Regions from separate parts of the Homo sapiens genome. Here region 2 is linked to region 1. The links are contacts of gene promoters, found by promoter capture Hi-C in blood cells and fetal thymus (Javierre and others, 2016). All regions are on one chromosome and are shown on one strand. Each heading gives the region's core, a stretch centred on a gene start or on the middle of the fragment in contact. The rest is flanking DNA. Distances are from core to core; before and after follow the strand shown. Region 1 holds the start of CALHM6 (calcium homeostasis modulator family member 6). Region 2 has its middle 40 kb from the start of DSE.

Region 1 (6,099 bases), core at 3,600-6,099:
GATAGGCTTAGGAAATTCACACTAAGAGAGGAATAAAAATCTTTAAAAGGCTTTTTTGAAATGTCATGGGATTGCCATTTAACAAATGACATCTCTGTGCCAAGGAAAGGGTCTGATCTTTCCCTCCTTCTGCTTTACACTTCCATTGGAAAAAACTTTTATAAACGTTTAAAATATCTGAAGACAACAGCATGTTCCAGATTTTCAAATATGTTATCTAACATGAGCAATATATCCACAAATTTTAACATTCAGAAAGATATTCCCTTTAAGACTAGGAGTGTCAGATTTTGTAAACTAACTTTTTAATTTGGCATCTGGCATTTCTTCTTGCATATGTTACCTAAGATATTTGAATATTAATTTGATTTTACTCTTTTTGGAGGGTCTTGGGGCCAAGATTAATGTTGTATAAGAATCCAGCAGTCATATTCCAAGCAGGGTCATGCCATTAGTCTGTATTCTTATGAGAGCCGCAGAGAACAATGTTTGAGAACTAGCACACATGAAGACAATTGCAAGACACTTTCAGATTCACAGTGTGTATGTGCATTTCCTTTCAAGAAGTTCCTTTTCCAAGAAATGTTCTGTGGTTTCTGAAACCCATTCCTGACATTGAAAATGATAGTGCTGAAAAAGTACTACAGTTAAAGGAAACCAAAGGGAACCCATAACCATTGGCTTTACACTGTGCTTAATGTGAGACTCTACTACTCATTTCTTTTTATTTTTTATTTTTGACCTCTGAACTTTTTATTGGCCTCCTGCTCCTCGAAGGGTCCCCTACTTCTGCTGGCTTAATGTCTCAGAACTTTGGTGTCATTGGTCTCAGACACCACTTCGCCATCCACTATTGGGCGGGTGGTGTCTTTTGGATGGTTTGCATGGAGTTGCTGTTGTCCAGGGCATCACCAAGATTGAAGTCCTCGCCATCTTCCAGCAGGCATTGGTAGGTGGCAATCTGAGTCTCCAGCTTGACTTTGATGTCCAGCAGGGCCTCGTACTGCTGGGCCTAGTGCTGTCCCTCTGCCTGGGTCTGTGCCAGCTCTGACTCCAGGTGCAGCAGGATCCCATTGAGCTGTTCCATCTGCAGGGCATAGCAGGCCTCCACCTCCCTCAGGCTGCTTTCCAAGCGGCCTTCAGATTTCTCATGGAGTCCAGGTCGATCTCCAAGGAATGGATTGTACATCTCAGCTCTGTGAGCGTCATCTCAGCAGCTCCAACCTCGGTGGACTGAGTGGTGGCCACTGTGGTGCTCACCTCAATCTGCTGAGACCAGTACTTGTCCAGCTCCTCTTAGTTCTTCCGAGCCAGCTCGTCATATTGGGCCCAGATGTCTTCCATGATCTTGGCAAGGTCCTGAGATTTGGGGGCATCTACCTCCACGGTCAGCCCAGAGCTGGCAGTCTGGGCTTGTAGGCCTTTACTTCCTCTTCATGGTTCTTCATGAAGAGCAGCTGCTTTTTGAGAGCCTCGATCTCTGTCTCCAGCTGCAGCCGAGTGACATTGGTGTCATCAATGACCTTGTGGACCCCATGGATGTCGCTCTCCACAGACTGGCACATGGGCAGCTCTGTCTCATACTTGACACTGAAGTCATCAGCAGCAAAACAGGCATTGATTTGCAGAACGATGCGGGCATTGTCCACAGTATTTGTGAAGATCTGAGCCCTCAGGTCCTGATGGTCATGAAGTAATGGCTCCAGTCTCTGGCCTGGGGTCCCTTCTTCCCCAGGTGCTCCCGGATTTTGCTCTCCAGCTTCCAGTTCTCGGTCTCCAGGCTCCTCACTCTGTCCAGGTAGGAGGCCAGACAGTCGTTCAGGCTTTGCATGGTCTCCTTCTCATTCTGGATGCCTGCTATCCCTGCCAGACCCCTGGCCATCCCTGCAGCCAGGCCCCCGGATCCCATGCCGCCCCAGAAGCTGGTGGAGCGGGACACAGAGATCCGGGAACCAGAGTCCTGGGTGCCTGCATAGACACTGGCTGCACTGCTGACCAGCTGGGCGATGAAGCTGGGTGTCTGGACAGAGCCCAGGGAATGGTAGTTGGTGGAGAAGGTGGAGCAAGTGGTGAAGCTCATACTGTCCAGGGAGGAGAGCAAGAGGACAGGACTCAGGCTTTACCGATGACATTCTACTACTCATTTCTTAACAGCTGAAGCAAATCACAGGCTTTCAAAAGTGTAAAGACATTTAAAATATTATTTAGTCTACCTCTCCACACCATTAGGGTGTTAGTCAATTTCCACTAAGGGCTGAACTTCTGAGCAATATCCTCTCAGAACAGACCTGGGTATGGAGGGCTGGGAATCTTCAATAGACCCAGAGCTAGAACCAGTCAATCCAGTGGTGGTGGGAGTGGATGGCAGGGTACTAGACTCAAGACCAAGTGCTGGGGAAACATTCAGGCTGGCAGGCAAAACCTGGACTCTCAATTATAGAAACCTGTACTAAGTTCTGAATGATCATTGCATCTGGGAGAGTTGGGTTTGGGAGAGCACAGAAGTAGCAAACCCAGGAGGTGGTGTTTAGAGACACAAGCTGACAAGACAATATGTCAGGATGCAGCTCAGTCTGTGAAAGTTTCAGAGGCAGAATTGCAGACTACATATTCTGGTCTGTGAAGCACCTAAACCTGACCTTCCACTTGCAGCTTTGGCCTCATGATGTGCCAACTTGCCTGTCATTCTCAATGCTCCCATCACTCTAGCCTTCTTTCTAACCAAGCTCCTTTGTACTCCAGACTCATTCAGATTAAATGTCAGTTTCTCACAGAGGCTCTTTCAGGACACTCTCTAACTCCAATTTATCCTGTGCGTAATCTTTAGGACCCCTCCTCTCCATTTCCTATATCATCTCTACTGTAAGTTCAAAGACGGCAGGATACCTGTGTCTTCTTCCTTGTTGTATCCAGCAATACCAGGCACTTTTGATAGGTACTTGACATATTCTGAGTACTTATTAAACATTTAAATGAATGACTGAATGAACAAATGAACTAATTAATAACTGGTTAACAAATGAATTAATCTAGTTGGGGAAGGGGGCTGATAGATAAAAGTTTCTGTAAGTAAACATATTTCAAACAAATCCTTGACTAAATAACAGAAGCCAGGGAAGAGAAGGTGATGGACTTCATTAGAGTCTTAAAAAATGAAGGGAATGAAAACAGACCATAGGAATGAGGTGAAGGAGGAGATGGTGCTGATTAGATTGAGCCTCAGTGGATGATAAACTATTATAGCACAGTGGTAAAACCCTGGTATGGCTATCAGCAGGTAACCAGGAAAATGCCAGCCATCCCTCTTGGTTTGAGAGATGTGGGAGAATAAATTAATCTCACTCAAGAAGACAGAAGGATGCATTTTTATTAGGTTTCGGTTAGGGGAGATTTGGATAAAGCCATCTGCACAAAGGTTGTGGATATAGTGATGTTTCTGCATGATGGAATATGGGAAAGGGTGGACGAGAGAGGACACATCTTAGAGTATTATGGTAGAGGTGAAGAAGAGTCCAGCAGTAAGAGGAGAGTTACTCAAGGCACAGGGGAAGAAATTTATCTTGGGAGATGACAAATTACAAAGATAACAGTCAGAGCAGAAGTGATTCGCTTCAAACACGCAACTTTGCTGCAAGTTGACAGGAAGCCTAGCAGTATCTGGTCTAATCTCAGAGAAGAGGGCCCCAACTTTCCTGCATGACCATGAAGACCCTCATCTGGGGCTGGCCCCTAAACACATAGAAAAAAGATGTCTATTTACCACATCACTATGGAATGACAGCTTTTGGCACTACGCTAGGCACCCTGCTGGTGGTGTTGGAGAGGGAGTAGTTAAGAAGGCAAGTTGGACTAAGAAAAGAATAATACATTTCTTGTCCATTCTCTAAAAATTCACTTGGTTCCATGGGCTACCTATTCTTTCCAGATAAAATAAGGCAAGCCTGGTGGATGGGCACCAATAAGAACCATTTCATTGTGAACTGCCCACCCAAGCTCCATATCCAGATACTCTCCTTGTGGTGAAGCAGACAGCTAAGGTGTACACCAATTCTCTTAAGGTAGCAGAGTCATTGAGTCACTTAATACTATCCACTGAATTGATCCTCGTTTAAAATTCAAAATTCAGTATTCATCAAGATTCTTAGGTTATGTACAATGTAATTATTTGTTGTCTATTCCCCAAATTGCATTTTAAGGGGAAAACTCTCACACTGATCATTCATTTAACAGACATATCCTATATGTAAAGGCACTTTACATATGCTACTCAATCTACTCATGTCAGTAATCTTGAAAAGTGGGCACTATTATCCTTCTTTTACAAATAAGGATGCTGTGTCTCAGAGGGGCATACTTGTTAAACACACCACAGACAAGATGCACTTGACTTCAAAGCCCATGTTCTTTCAAGCACACCTCAGCTCAGTCTGGAGTCACACAGAGTAAGGCTCAATATCACAAAAGTGGTTACAGTGTTTGTGTCAGAACAACGCTGCTTGAGAAAACTGAAGGTGGAGGAAACAACATTAGATAGATGTAGCTGCAGTTTGAAATTTTGGGTTCAACTAGCATTCTTTGAATAATCATGTATCCCCTTCTGTGCAGATCAGCTTGGTGGTCAGAGTCAGAATTTTACTCTCCTCCAGGCATTGACAGTGTTATGACATATCTGAAAGAAAAGAACATTGTATTGACGAGTAAATCAATACAGTATATTTGGTCTAATGTCCTGAAGGAGATCAGGCAGAGGAGAGAAGAGTCAGTGTGAACTAGGCTGGTGGCTCTGTCCGGTAGGGAGATGGAAAGGGTGCCGCCCATCATAGAAGTACCAGAACTTGAGCTGGACTTTGCTGATTTAGCTTATGGAAGAGGAACCAGAAATTTGTCCTTGAATAATGTTTCCCGTAAGTAATCAGTTTTTTGATAATTATTTGGTTTTACTGTGATCTGGCTTAGTAACTAGGGTGGCTGCAATAGAGGAAAATCTGGTATTTCCCAGTTTTTCCAACTGGCGGCCGTGGGTCAAGAAGGTTAGTTTCCTGGTTCGTTGTCAGATTGGTGGTAATAAAGGAACAAGGTCAACCTTCTGTCAGAGTTCCTGAATTGGGGGAGGAAGATAACTGGTGCCTCTGCCTTTGGAATGGGGTGGGTGCCAGAGAAGTCAAGGTCCTGGGGGTGTTTGCTTGCCTGGTTCTGTTAACCAGAGGTGGTGTGGCTGAAATGAGAAAGTGAAACTTTAGGAAGGTCTGAGAAGCCCTCTTCCCTTTAAAAAAAAAAAAAAAAAGGCTGCTTCTCGCAGAGTGGAAAGCCCCGGTCCCCATCCCACCAAAACCATTTGACAAGCAGGACAACGAAGAGGCAGAAGGATCTGGGCCTGTGCGCGACGCCCCGGGGGACGAGGCTCATGGAGAAGTTTCGGGCGGTGCTGGACCTGCACGTCAAGCACCACAGCGCCTTGGGCTACGGCCTGGTGACCCTGCTGACGGCGGGCGGGGAGCGCATCTTCTCCGCCGTGGCATTCCAGTGCCCGTGCAGCGCCGCCTGGAACCTGCCCTACGGCCTGGTCTTCTTGCTGGTGCCGGCGCTCGCGCTCTTCCTCCTGGGCTACGTGCTGAGCGCACGCACGTGGCGCCTGCTCACCGGATGCTGCTCCAGCGCCCGCGCGAGTTGCGGATCGGCGCTGCGCGGCTCCCTGGTGTGCACGCAAATCAGCGCGGCCGCCGCGCTCGCGCCCCTCACCTGGGTGGCCGTGGCGCTGCTCGGGGGCGCCTTTTACGAGTGCGCGGCCACCGGGAGCGCGGCCTTCGCGCAGCGCCTGTGCCTCGGCCGCAACCGCAGCTGCGCCGCGGAGCTGCCGCTGGTGCCGTGCAACCAGGCCAAGGCGTCGGACGTGCAGGACCTCCTGAAGGATCTGAAGGCTCAGTCGCAGGTCTGCCGCTGGCGCTGGGGGCGTTTGGGAGGAGCCGAGAGGCCGAGCTTTCTCAGGGCCGCTGGGGTGAGGGAAAAATCGGTGACTTTTCTCCAGATATACAGTACCCTAAGAAAATCTAGAATGGCTCCTTGCATCTAATTTGCCGTCAAGAGAATATCTGAATAAAA
Region 2 (6,062 bases), core at 2,900-5,399, 130 kb before region 1:
AATAAGTTCTTAGGGTGTTGGAATTTAAAACTAATTAACATTTGTTACACTCTTTTGAGATTCACATTATGAGTCACTTAGATTTTAATCAAATTTCTCATACGTTTCCTTTCTGGACCGAGGAGACTGTGCACATATTGAGCAGAACAATTTTGCCTCCCTTCAGTTTGAGATGGGGTGCGAAGAGTTTCAGATACAGCCAGGAAATACCTCAAATGGCACTGCAGAGGTCTGTAAGACTGACCAAAATTTAAAATCTTGGTATATCCATTCCATTACATCAAAGTAAGTTCTAGTACTCCACTGCCAGTATCAGCAGATAATAAAAAATGACGCACATTGTAATGATTCAAGCAAGCCCAGTAAAGGAGCAAGAAGGAATGTAATATCTATTTTTGTGAAAGTTTCCAGAAATAAATCAACAAACCACTTTATTCTTCTTATAATTACTTGGAATCTCTTAATTCCAGAAGACTATCTGGCCTGCTGTTTAAAAGGAAGTGAGTGTTCCCTTTCAGCTTGCTTCACTATTTTTCTCATCCAGTCAGTGGTATGGGATACCAAGGATGGGATAAGGAGAGTAGTTCACCCCTAGTACAGGCAATAAGGGCTGCTTTGTGTGTAGAAAATTGAAAAGAAATAAAAATAAAATAATAATAAAAGCCAGTTCTGCTTACTACGCCTGGCAGTTCCGCTTACTATGCCTGGCAGTTCCAAGCAATATCAACAATACTACTCCTCTTTGAAAAATAAAAAAACTTTTGTTGGTCTAAGTTCTAAACAACTGCTGCAGTTGCTGAAATTTAACAAAACAAATGTAAGCTGAATATTACGTTTTTATTATTACTTATTATTTAATAAACATTGCATTCTATGTGGAAGTAATTCTAACTCTCAAATGCACATGGACTCAGCTATACTTGTTTATTTCAAGAATAAGCAGTCAAGTTCTGTTTCATTTTTATAATCACTCTGCTGTAATTGTTTATTTTTAGTCTGTGTTTAAATACAGGCTTACATAGTACCACAGGGACTGGAGATGTGACCTGAGCCTGAAGCAAGCTCAAATAATTCACAATCATTACAAGCTTTGGAGAATTTTACCAAATATGATAGAAATTTATGATGAATTTTCTGGTGAAGTTATTTTAGTGGAAATTTTTCAACAGCAGAAATATTTGAAAACTGCTGGAACTGATCCCAAAGAAAAAAGGATATGGGTAGTACTATAATTTCTGGAATTTATTGTGAAATGGGATTTGTATGAATCTGATGAATGTATTCTTATTTTAAAGATTTCATCACTATTTCCATATCTGTTATTTCACGTGAAACTTTTTGAAATTAAAATAAAAAATGTTCTTCAATCAACTATGAGTGATGTCAACACATCTGACCGCACTGATTTTACTGACCATGACTATATAAAGATTAATTTGACAAAGCATTGACAAATTTGCAAAAATTAATGCTCAAAGTCAGAAAACATAAAGTGATTATTCTTCACTGAGGCAAACCAGTATATAGGTATAAATATTTTTCTTTTCTTTTCTTTGAGATGGAGTCTTGCTCTGTCCCCAGGCTGGAGTGCAATGACGCGATCTCAGCTCAATGCAACCTCCGCCTTCCGGATTCAAGTGATTGTCCTGCCTCAGCCTCCCGGGTAGCTGGGATTACAGGCGCCTACCATCACGCCCAGCTGATTTTTTGTATTTTTAGTAGAGATGGGGTTTCATCATATTGGCCAGGCTGGCCTTGAACTCCCAACCTCAGGTGATCCACCTGCCTCGGCCTCCCAAAGTGCTGGGATTACAGGCGTGAGCCACTGCGCCTGGCCCATACTAATGTACTTAAAAAGTATTAAACCTTAACTTTTTGCATTTTCAGCTAAAATATATACTTTATTAATTTATTATTAGCATGATTACATAGTCAAAATTGAATAAATGAAAACTTTCACTGCCTGCATTTCTTTTCTGGACATAATTATTATTTGTTTCATTTCAAAATTATTACTGAAAATACTTTTATCATACAGAGGAAGGCGTATTAAAAATGGTCCCTTTCAGGCATCAAGTACCTAGCTATGCCACTGCATGCGTCTATTCATTTTAACTCAAAACAAAATGCATTTTTAATCTTTTTGGTATTACATATGTTTTTGACAATTATGCCAAAAAGCAATTTATTTTAATAAGGGAACTCTTAATAATCAAGAAATAGAAAGAGCTACCCTTAAATACAACTCTCAACTACCACCGATTTTGGTAATAACTATTTCTAGTTAATATATTTGATGTTTTGATTATTTTATTATAAGCTTAGTAGGATAAGAAAAATACAAAAAATACAACTGCATAAATCTCAACATGATGAAATAGAAATTATGACTATCTCCTTATGACTCAAAAAAGCTGAATCACTCATTTTAAACCTTCCAGTCTAGCAAATACCCTGATTTTATGCCTTTTCAGAAAACAGAAAAACAAAGATGTTCTCCAACCTAGCTTATAAAGTCAACACAACTTTGATATAAGAACATGAACATTAAATGATGAGGAAAAATTGCAGGCAACCTCAATCATGAACAGATATGCTTAAATTCTTAATATTAGATAACCATACAACATGTATATATGAAATGTCACAAGTTGAGTTTGTTGCAATTATGCAATGTTAGTTTAATATTAGAAAACTGAGAATTTATGACATTAACAGAATAAAGGAAAAAATTATATGATAATTGTACTAGATGCAGAAAAGCAGTTGGTTAAAGTAAGCATCTATTTATGATTAAAATACATCTTTGGGCAAACGAAGAATAGAAGAGAGCTTCTTTAATCAAATACAGGGTATCTACAAAACACCAATAATAAACACCATAGAAATACTGAAAACTTTCTTTCTGTGATCAGGAATAAGATAATAGTTGTATTAGTTCATTCTCTTGCTGCTATGATGAAATACCCAAGACTGGGTAATTTATAAAGGAAAGAGATTTAATTGACTCACAGTTCTGCAGGGCTGGGGAGGCCTCATGAAACTTACAATCATGGTGGAAGAGAAAGCAAACACATCCTTCTTCACATGGTGACAGCAAGGAGAAGTGCACTGCGAAGTGGGGAAAAGCCCCTTATAAAACCATCAGATCTCATGAGAAGTCACTCACTATCATGAGAACAGCATGGGGGAAATGCCCCTATGATCTAATCACCTCCCACGAGGTAACCCCCCAATATATGGGGATTACAATTCGGATTACAATTCAAGATGAGGTTCTGGGCGGGGACAGAGCCAAACCATATCAATAGTTACCAACATTTCTAGGCTACCTGCCACTGAAAGTCCTAATTAGTGTGGTAAGGAAGAAGAATTGAAAAGAACAAGTAGGCCGGGCACAGTGGCTCACGCCTGTAGTCCCAGCACTTTGGGAGGCAGAGGCAAGCAGATCACGAAGTCAGGGAATCGAGACCATCATGGCCAACATGGTGAAACCCTGTCTCTACTAAAAATACAAAAATTAGCTGGGCATGGTGGCACGCACCTGTAGTCCCACCTACTTGGGAGGCTGAGGCAGTAGAATTGTTTGAACCCGAGAGGCGGAGGTTGCAGTGGGCCAAGATGGTATCACTGCACTCCAGCCTGGCAACAGAGTGAGACTCCATCTAAAAGAAAAAGAACAAGTAAAACTGCCATTATTTGCTAAGACTATATATATAAAAAAACTCAAAGACTCTACAGATAGTTCTTAGAATTGAGTTTAATAAAATTGTATCCCAGCAACCTTGTTAAACTCAATTCTAATCTCGACTTGTAGATTTTAAAAATTTCATTTCTATGATGAGCAACAACAGAAAATAAAACTGAAAATAATCATAATAGGATCAAAAATATTTAAAACCTAAAAATAAATATTTTAGCAGTTGTAAAAGAAACATAAAACATTCCCAAGAGACATTAAAAAAGACAAATCAATGAATACTTGTACTACATTTATATATTGGAAGACTCAGCATTTTTAAAATGTTAATTTTCCTGAAACTGAGCTTTAGATCCAAAGAAATTCAAATCAAAATCCCAGTTGGTTTGTGTGTGTGTGTGTGTGTAAGAGAGACACAGGGAGAAAAGGAGTTTGAAACTCAATTCTTTAAAATATGAAAAAAAAATTAAGAGAAACAGGTATAGACAAGACACTCTTGAATAGGAGGGAAAAGGTAAGAGGAGTTGCTCTACTGGATATTAATACTTATGTCTGTGATAATTAGGATAGTACAGTATTGGGGTAAGAATAGACAAAAATCAGTGGAACAAATTGGAGTTTAGAAAAAAGACACATTTGAAATAAATTAAGTGTTTATATATTAAGCAGGACACACACAAAAAAGTACTTACAGTAAAGGAAAAGACTGATACTTAGAGTTAAAATTAAGAGCCTCAGTTTATGAAAAGACACCTTTAATTGGTAAAAAGTCAAGCTACATGGTAAAATATATTACATATGCAAGTCTTGTGCCTGGTATAAAGTACATCTACAAAGTAAATCAATATATAAAAAAATCCAATGAAAAATGGACAAAAAGACTTCAGGCATTTCACAAAAATAGATACCCCAATTGCCAGCAAGTATAAGAAAAGGTCTTTGATTTCTTTAGTAATCAGGAAAATGCAAATTAAAACCACAGTTATATACCATCAGACTTCCTTTAGAATAGCTAAACTTAAGAATCCTGATAATCTCAACTGTGGGAGAAAATATAGAGCACTAGGAATTCTTATTCACTGCTAATGTGAAAATTGGTAAATGTACTTCCTCAGGATAAAATTTTCAATGAAAACGGAATAGAATTTACATATATTCACATAAATTCATGCATCCCAGTGGAAAGCACTGACCTATTTTTTGTCTTGTCTTAGTCCATTTTCTGCTGCATAACAGAGTACCATAGACTTGGTGATTTATAAAGAAAAGAGATTTATTTGGCTCATGGTTCTGGAGGCTGGGAAGTCCAAGGTTGAGGGACCATATTTGGTGAGGGCATTCTTGTTGTATCATAACATGATGGAAGGCATCACATAGTGAGACAATGTGAGAGAGAGTGAGAGCATGAAACAGAGAAAAAGAGGGCCAAACTCCTGAGATAACTCACTTCTGTGATAATGACAATCCATGAAGAAAGTGCCCCCATGACTTAATCACTTTGTAAACTCCCCATCTCCCAATACCGTTACATTGGCAATTAATTTTCAACATGAGTTTTAGAGGGGATTTTCAAACCATAGCATGTCTCAACTGATCTTTATGGTATGTACATATCTACTTTACAGATGAGAAAAGTGAGGCTTCAGAAAGAGAAAGATTTTTAATAAATCCATGAATCTACTAAGTGGAAGAGCCACCATCTAAACAAGCTCTTTCTCATTCTCAACCACATATTCTTTCACCATGTTTATAAAAGCATCCTTTAAAAATATATCCTGTTTTTCCTTATACATTTATAAATTTCTCTTTAAATTTAAAAATATCACTTTAATTACATTACTTGATGCCTTTTGCTCCCTACTCAGAGGTAAGACAATGCAGTTTACAAAATATTGCAATTCTTGAGTCCAGGAGATCGAGGCTGCAGTGAGCCATGAATGCACCACTCCACTCCGGCCTGGGTGACAGAGCAAGAACCCCTCTCAAAAACAACCCTCCAAAATATTGCAATATGTGAAAGAAGTTTGACTCTTTGCTATACTGATCTCTCTCCTAGATGCTTTATTTTAATGTATTGTACTTAGTGAACATTGTCGTACTAATCTATTTACACATTTGTTTCCCACCATTAGATTATAATATTCTTGAGGACAAGTTCTTATCTTTGTGTCTCTGTATCTTCAGCATATCACACAATTGTCTGTTGAATGACTAGATGAGATTTTATTCTCAAGGCTTTGACTCAGAGTAGGCAAGTCCCCATTTCAACCCTTTTAAAGAAAGCTTGAAATCACTCTGCTACCTTCTAGCAGAGTTAAGGTCAAATCATATTCTGAAAGATAAAGGATTCTACCTTATTTTT

What was found. The method cuts DNA at HindIII sites, captures the fragments that hold promoters and counts their contacts. A CHiCAGO score of 5 or more calls a contact.
Region 2: a fragment that was not itself captured here is called in contact with the fragment with the promoter of CALHM6 in region 1 in 13 of 17 cell types (neutrophils, total B cells, naive B cells and 10 more); the score reaches 21.8 in neutrophils.

What each region holds. Positions count from the first base shown.
Region 1 is chr6:116,456,526-116,462,624 of GRCh38, forward strand. It overlaps CALHM6 (calcium homeostasis modulator family member 6), which reads left to right and starts at 4,850. Exons shown (of 3, transcript NM_001010919.3): 1 at 4,850-4,904; 2 at 5,347-5,929. The coding sequence starts at 5,405. CALHM6-AS1 (CALHM6 antisense RNA 1) reads right to left here. Exons shown (of 2, transcript NR_174951.1): 2 at 3,953-4,669. It also overlaps the pseudogene KRT18P22. RefSeq lists enhancers at 5,256-5,365, 5,376-5,455 and a silencer at 5,836-5,915. The HindIII fragment of the contact is 9,761 bases long and covers 1-6,099 here.
Region 2 is chr6:116,328,288-116,334,349 of GRCh38, forward strand. It overlaps a transcript of DSE not described here. Among named protein-coding and RNA genes, the nearest start is that of DSE, 40 kb to the right of the region's middle. The HindIII fragment of the contact is 3,663 bases long and covers 2,319-5,981 here.